Linked DNA regions of Homo sapiens: region 2 is linked to region 1. The links are contacts of gene promoters, found by promoter capture Hi-C in blood cells and fetal thymus (Javierre and others, 2016). All regions are on one chromosome and are shown on one strand. Each heading gives the region's core, a stretch centred on a gene start or on the middle of the fragment in contact. The rest is flanking DNA. Distances are from core to core; before and after follow the strand shown.

Region 1 (2,996 bases), core at 146-2,645:
GCATTTCTACCTATGGATTTTATTCTCCAGGTGTGGGACGCCTGCGGTTATTATGCTAATAATAAAACGATGATCATTGATGTGGCACTTCCTTGTGCCAAGTTCTACTTATGCTCACCATAAACCTGAGGTTGGTTCTGTTATTACTACTGTTTTACAAGTGAACCGAGGAGTGGTGGACTTAAGTAAGCTCTCTCAGTCACACAGCCAGCCAGTGGTGAAACCAGGAGTCAACACCAGACAGCGGGGCGCCACAGTCCATGCTCTTATTTTTCCAAGCTACCTTGGTAGGAAGGGGACACAACCATACTTAGCGTCAGTGGAGGGCTCTGTCCTCCACTCAAATGTACACATGCAGAAAACTGACGACGCAGGTGGTTGGCGGGGGCAGCGCACCACTGCTCAACTGGAGATGGTCAGATGCCCTGGTATGTGGACAAAGATAGCCCAGTCCGAAGCTCAGAGATGCAAAGTCCTCCAGTATTCACCACTACCTCTGCCTCTGTATAGGGTCAAAGAAAAACGACCACCAGCACCATAACCAACACCTAAACACGGTGATTAGTATGTGACAAGCTCTGTGCAGGGTGTTTCAGCTACGTCATCCCATTTAATCTTCCCAATAACACCCAGGCAGGTGCTATTAATATGCTATTTTACCAAGGAGGAAAGTCATGCACAATTAAACAGTTCCACAGATTTCCAGGGCAGCCCATCACATCTTAGAGCTGCTAAGAATTCTTCCCCTGTGGGCCTCCATTTCCATGGTTACAGTGAGATATACACCAGAAAGGCACAGTCACACACTCATAACCGCAAAGCCACTGACGCTAAGTGGCAGACAGACGCCCAGGCAAGTCACACAGTAACCCAAGGCTACAATAAACGCCCACATCAGCCTGACACTGACACACGCACACACTCCAGAAACACAAATCTTCACAGTCAGCGTCACACACCCACTCCCGGCTTCCCAATGGCTCCATTGTTTCCTTCGCGTGGGTCACGCAGCGATACACATCCGCGGTCCCGACATAGCTCCCTCACACACAGGCACACACGGCTCGCCTCACACGCGGCGCCAACTTCACACTTGGGCGCACAAGCCCCGAGAACCACAGCAGCGAAGGGCGCAAACCCCACGCCGTGGCGGGCCGAGAACCCACGCAGGCGCGAGCCCACCGCCCACGCAAGCACCCGCGCAGACGCCCACGCCATCGTGGATGCGCAAACCCACGCGCGCCTTGGCAGGAACGTCCACGCAGTGGCGGGCGCGCCGCCCACGCCCTCAGACACACCCACACTCTCGCCAGCCCCCTTACCTCGGTCTTCCCGGGCTCAGACCCCGGCGGCGACCACCGAGACAGCCGAGCAGGGACTCAGCGCCTGCGCACTCCCCTCCGGGACCCCGGGACCGCGCGCTGCACCCCCCTTCACACACGCACCACGCATGCGGGCGCGTGGCCCCGCCCCCAAACAAGGCCACGCGGCGTGCGCTCACCCGCCTCTCGGGGACAGTACCACCAGCCCCGGCCTGAGGCCCCGACCCCTCAGCGCCACACGCACAAGCGCGTTCGCACGATTGGTGCAGGCGGACGCGCGAGGTCCCGCGCCTGCGCACACCCCCGAGGCTGGCACGCACACCGGTCTCCTAGGGGACTGGCGCCTGGCCCTGCTTTTCATCCTCTCAGGAGATCACGTGTGGACACTGAGGCCCTTCCTCGAGCTCTTTAACCAAACCCAACCTCCCCAATTCGCCGCCTTCCCCGCTCCCACAACCACACGTTCCCGTGTGAGGGCTTATTGCCTCCAGCCAGCCAGCGTCCTTCGCCCCCACATTCACGAGGTTTGGAGCCGGCCTCACCCGCGGAGGCGGACACCGCCCACCCGCGCGTGCGCACTACGCAGTCATCCTGCGACCTCCAGAATCCACCGGGGTGCAGCGAGGCTGTGGAAAGTCCCACCCAGAACGTGAGGTGAAGAAGGCTTGGGCTGCGCTGGTTCTGCTCTGTCCGGGTCGGAGATGAACTGACCCGGGAGAGCAGCGGAGGGATGTTTCTTTTGGCCAACAGTGGGGACTCACCTGCACGTTTTGCGAAGAGGCCCACAGTCCTTTGCGTGGCGCTCGGACTACATTTCCCAACGGCCCCTGCACGCCCTGGGGGCTGTTCCATGCGGTGTTGCGCCTGCGTAGCCGGCGGGCTGGCAGTGAGACTGACTGCGTCGGGGTTGAGACTGGGTGGATGAGGCTCACCCCGGCGGGGAGAAGGGACGAGGAGGGGCGGACAGCGGAAGGTCCGGGAGTGTCCGCCATAAAGTCGTTTGAGGTGACCGTTGCGTAATTGTGAGTCTGTGAGAGAAGATGTGAAGTATGGCCTCGTCCCGGTCATCTGGGCGTGCGGGTCCCGGGTTTTGATCGCGCGTTTGTGTAGGTGAGACCCACATTGTGTTACCCTGAACATGTGTGAGGACGAACCTTTGTGTTTTCTTATACGTGTGTCTCTGAGGCGATTTTTGTGGTTTTGTACGTGGCGGGGGGCACTGATTTTGAATATGTGTGTATGTTCTGGACATTTGTTTAGCTTCTGCATCCACTTCTGCGGAAGGGCAGAGTTGAGTAGGTGGGAACAGGTACTGTGTGGCCCCACAAAGCCTGAACTATTTACTGTTGACTCTAGAGCCCAGTTTTTGCGGTGTGTACGTCTCTGTGGGGAACCACACATTTTGAATATGTATACTTGTGTATATTTACGTCTATTCTATGACTGCTTTTGCACAATGGCAGGGTTCAGTACTTGCAGCAGAGATCTTGTGGCCCATAAAGCCTAAAATACTATCCGACTAAGGTTTCGAGCCGTAGCCAGTTTTTGTGGATGAGTGTTGTGTGTGTGTGGGAAGCCAGTGATTGATTGATTGATTGATTGATTTGGGACGGAGTCTCGCTCTGTCGCCCAGGCTGGAGTGCAGTGGCGCGATCTCGGCTCACTGCAACCTCC
Region 2 (2,996 bases), core at 272-2,771, 290 kb after region 1:
ATGACATTTTTGCTTGTCACAATTGGAGAAGCGGGTGCTCCTGGCATCCACTGAACAGAGGCCAGGGATACTACTAAACACCCTACAATGCACTGGATGGTCCACAGGAGTTGCCCAACACCAAATGTCAACTGCACCAGTGGAGAAATCAGTCCTGGTGCTGCTCCCACATCTGATCCTATCACTCTCCCTCTCACTCGCAACCCTTCTACTGTCTCCTCCACCAACATACAAAGCTATTTTCTGACCAAAGAGCTTCGCTCATGCTGTTTCCTCTGCCCGGACACTCTCTTCTCCAGGGTCCCAGGCTGACTTCTCATCTGATGGTCTTTGCTTAAAGGCCATCTCTTCAGAGAGCCTTTTTTGGACCAACCTGTCTTAAATTAGCCCTCCCACTTCCATGGTAACTCTCTACCCTCTTTCCTGGTTTTATTTTTCTTCATAGCATTTACCACCTTATTTTGCTTATTGCCTGTCTCCCCCATATTGCACATTAAAGTTTGAGAAATACTGGTTTCAAGAAAGGATTGAAAACTGAGGATCCTACAGGGGCCAGCAGAGATGATCTTGGGTGACTTTATTTTTTTATTTTATTTTATTTTATTTTTTATTTTTTTTAATTTTATTTATTTATTTTTTTTTGAGACGGAGTCTCGCTCTGTCGCCCAGGCGGGACTGCGGACTGCAGTGGCGCAATCTCGGCTCACTGCAAGCTCCGCTTCCCGGGTTCACGCCATTCTCCTGCCTCAGCCTCCCGAGTAGCTGGGACTACAGGCGCCCGCCACCGCGCCCGGCTAATTTTTTTTGTATTTTTAGTAGAGACGGGGTTTCACCTTGTTAGCCAGGATGGTCTCGATCTGCTGACCTCATGATCCACCCGCCTCGGCCTCCCAAAGTGCTGGGATTACAGGCGTGAGCCACCGCGCCCGGCCTGGGTGACTTTAATAAAGCAGCCAAATGTAGTTAGTCTGGTTCTAAAATTTCAGAATTCCTTGGCAATGCCGAAGTGACCCTATTCTTGAGATGCTGGCTTTTTAGAAGAAATATAAGAAAAACTCTATAGAAGAAAACTCACAACTGCAAAAACATGCAGAAATAACTAAGGAAAACTTGTGACATTTTGATAAGAAAACTATAAAGCTTTACTGATTGATACAAAAGCTTGAATGAATGAAAACACAGTATCATATTCCTGGATGTTAAGATTAAATGTAACAATGTTAATCCTTCCTAACTTATAAGTTCATTGCAATAATAATCAGAAGGTTGGTTTTTGATTACTAAAGATAAATTTTAATCTGGAATAACGGAAACTTATATATAACTTCACATAAATTTATGCATACATGTACATATACTTTTTAAAGGCACAATGATGGAAAACATTAAATATAGCCATAAAAATTAAGAAGAATATAGATCTAGGATAAAACAGGGCAACAAGCCAATAAAAGCAAGTAGATGGTCCAAATATAGAACCTACATTATAAAATATAACAATTTATAATTTACTAATAATGTTGGGGCAATTAACAATGAGGAAGAATAAATTTAATTCTCTTTTCATACAATATGCCCAAGTAAATTCAATAATCACTAAAGCATATTTTTAAAACTCCAGAATAAAACACTAATGTTTACAGAGGGTTAGATTTTGTAGGGTTGGAAGAAAATAGAAGGATTGAAATATATAAAAATTGAAACATTTTCAAAAAATAAAGAAAATACCAAAGAGGGAAAATCATTTGCAGCCAAGATGACAACAAAGAATTAATATCTTTATTATGCAAAGAGATGGTTCAAACTGATAGGAAGCTATTAAAGTCACATAGACAAATGATTAAAAGACAGACAATGTGAAGAGAGGAAACAATGGCTTAAGAAGCTTACAGGAGAAAGTTCAACATCCTTAAAAATCAAAGACAATTAAAATGAGATGCCCTTTCCCCTATTAGCAAAGTTGCTACTAAACACCCTACAATGAAAAGTGCTGTTATTACATAATGCCAGCTGGGCGGGAGGTGTGGGGGGTAGTGGGTGTGTGTGAGGAACACGTATCCCCAAGCATTACTAGCAGTAGCAGCAGTGCAAACTGATGTAATGTTTCCAAAAGGAACTTGGATATATCAAAAATCTTAAAAGCAATTATACACCTTCTGATGCAGCAATTCCTCTTTGGCAAATATGTATCGTAAAGAAATTTTACATTTGGAAAAAGGTTTAAGCACCGAAATGTTGATTATAGTATGTTCATAACTATGAAAAATTGAAACTGAATTTTACCTCCTAACAACAGAGGAGGAGCCATCCACAGAAAGCACTGGGTTTGCTGTGCCACTGGTAAGGCGGTGATAACCACAGACGAGTGAGTGATGACAGCAGTTTTGTAAGGTATAAGATTGGGTAGAAAAACAAGGTATACTATCGCACACATGGAATAGTCACAGCTATATGACAACTATCTATAAATACCTTAAAAATAGGTAATACAGGGTTGGGTGCGGTGGCTCACACCTGTAATCCTAGCACTTTGGGAGGCCAAGGCAGGCAGATCACCTGAGGTTAGGAGTTCCAGACCAGCCTGGCCAACATGGCAAAACCCCATCTCTACTAAAAATAGAAAAAAAAAAAAGCCGGGCAGGGTGGTGCATGCCTGTAGTCCCAGCTACTTGGGAGGCTGAGGCAGGAGAACTGCTTGAACCTGGAAGGCAGAGGCTGCAGTGAGCCACGATCGCGCCCCTGCACTGCAGCCTGGGCAACAGAGCGTAATACAGTCATGAGGGTAACAAAGTGGACAGGTATAGACCATGAAAATGAGATCTTTACTTCAGCCACTCCCCAGAGGCGACTACCTTCATAAATCTAGTCATTAATTTTAAGTTACAAGAAAACAGACTAAAAATGTTAGTGGTGTTCATAGTGTATTTTTCTGTTTCGGGGCAGAGGGAGGGAGAGAGATCTACATTTCTGTAAAGTAGTTGCCTTTAATGAGTCAA

Evidence for each region. The method cuts DNA at HindIII sites, captures the fragments that hold promoters and counts their contacts. A CHiCAGO score of 5 or more calls a contact.
Region 2: a fragment that was not itself captured here is called in contact with the fragment with the promoter of ZNF667 in region 1 in 1 of 17 cell types (activated CD4 T cells); the score reaches 5.9 in activated CD4 T cells.

What each region holds. Positions count from the first base shown.
Region 1 is chr19:56,475,950-56,478,945 of GRCh38, forward strand. It overlaps ZNF667 (zinc finger protein 667), which reads right to left and starts at 1,396. Exons shown (of 7, transcript NM_001321356.2): 1 at 1,323-1,396. ZNF667-AS1 (ZNF667 antisense RNA 1) reads left to right here and starts at 1,925. Exons shown (of 2, transcript NR_036521.1): 1 at 1,925-2,432. The HindIII fragment of the contact is 7,484 bases long and covers 1-2,996 here.
Region 2 is chr19:56,767,819-56,770,814 of GRCh38, forward strand. The region is part of intron 1 of ZIM2-AS1 (ZIM2 antisense RNA 1); the gene reads left to right. Among named protein-coding and RNA genes, the nearest start is that of ZIM2-AS1, 4.0 kb to the left of the region's middle. The HindIII fragment of the contact is 724 bases long and covers 1,160-1,883 here.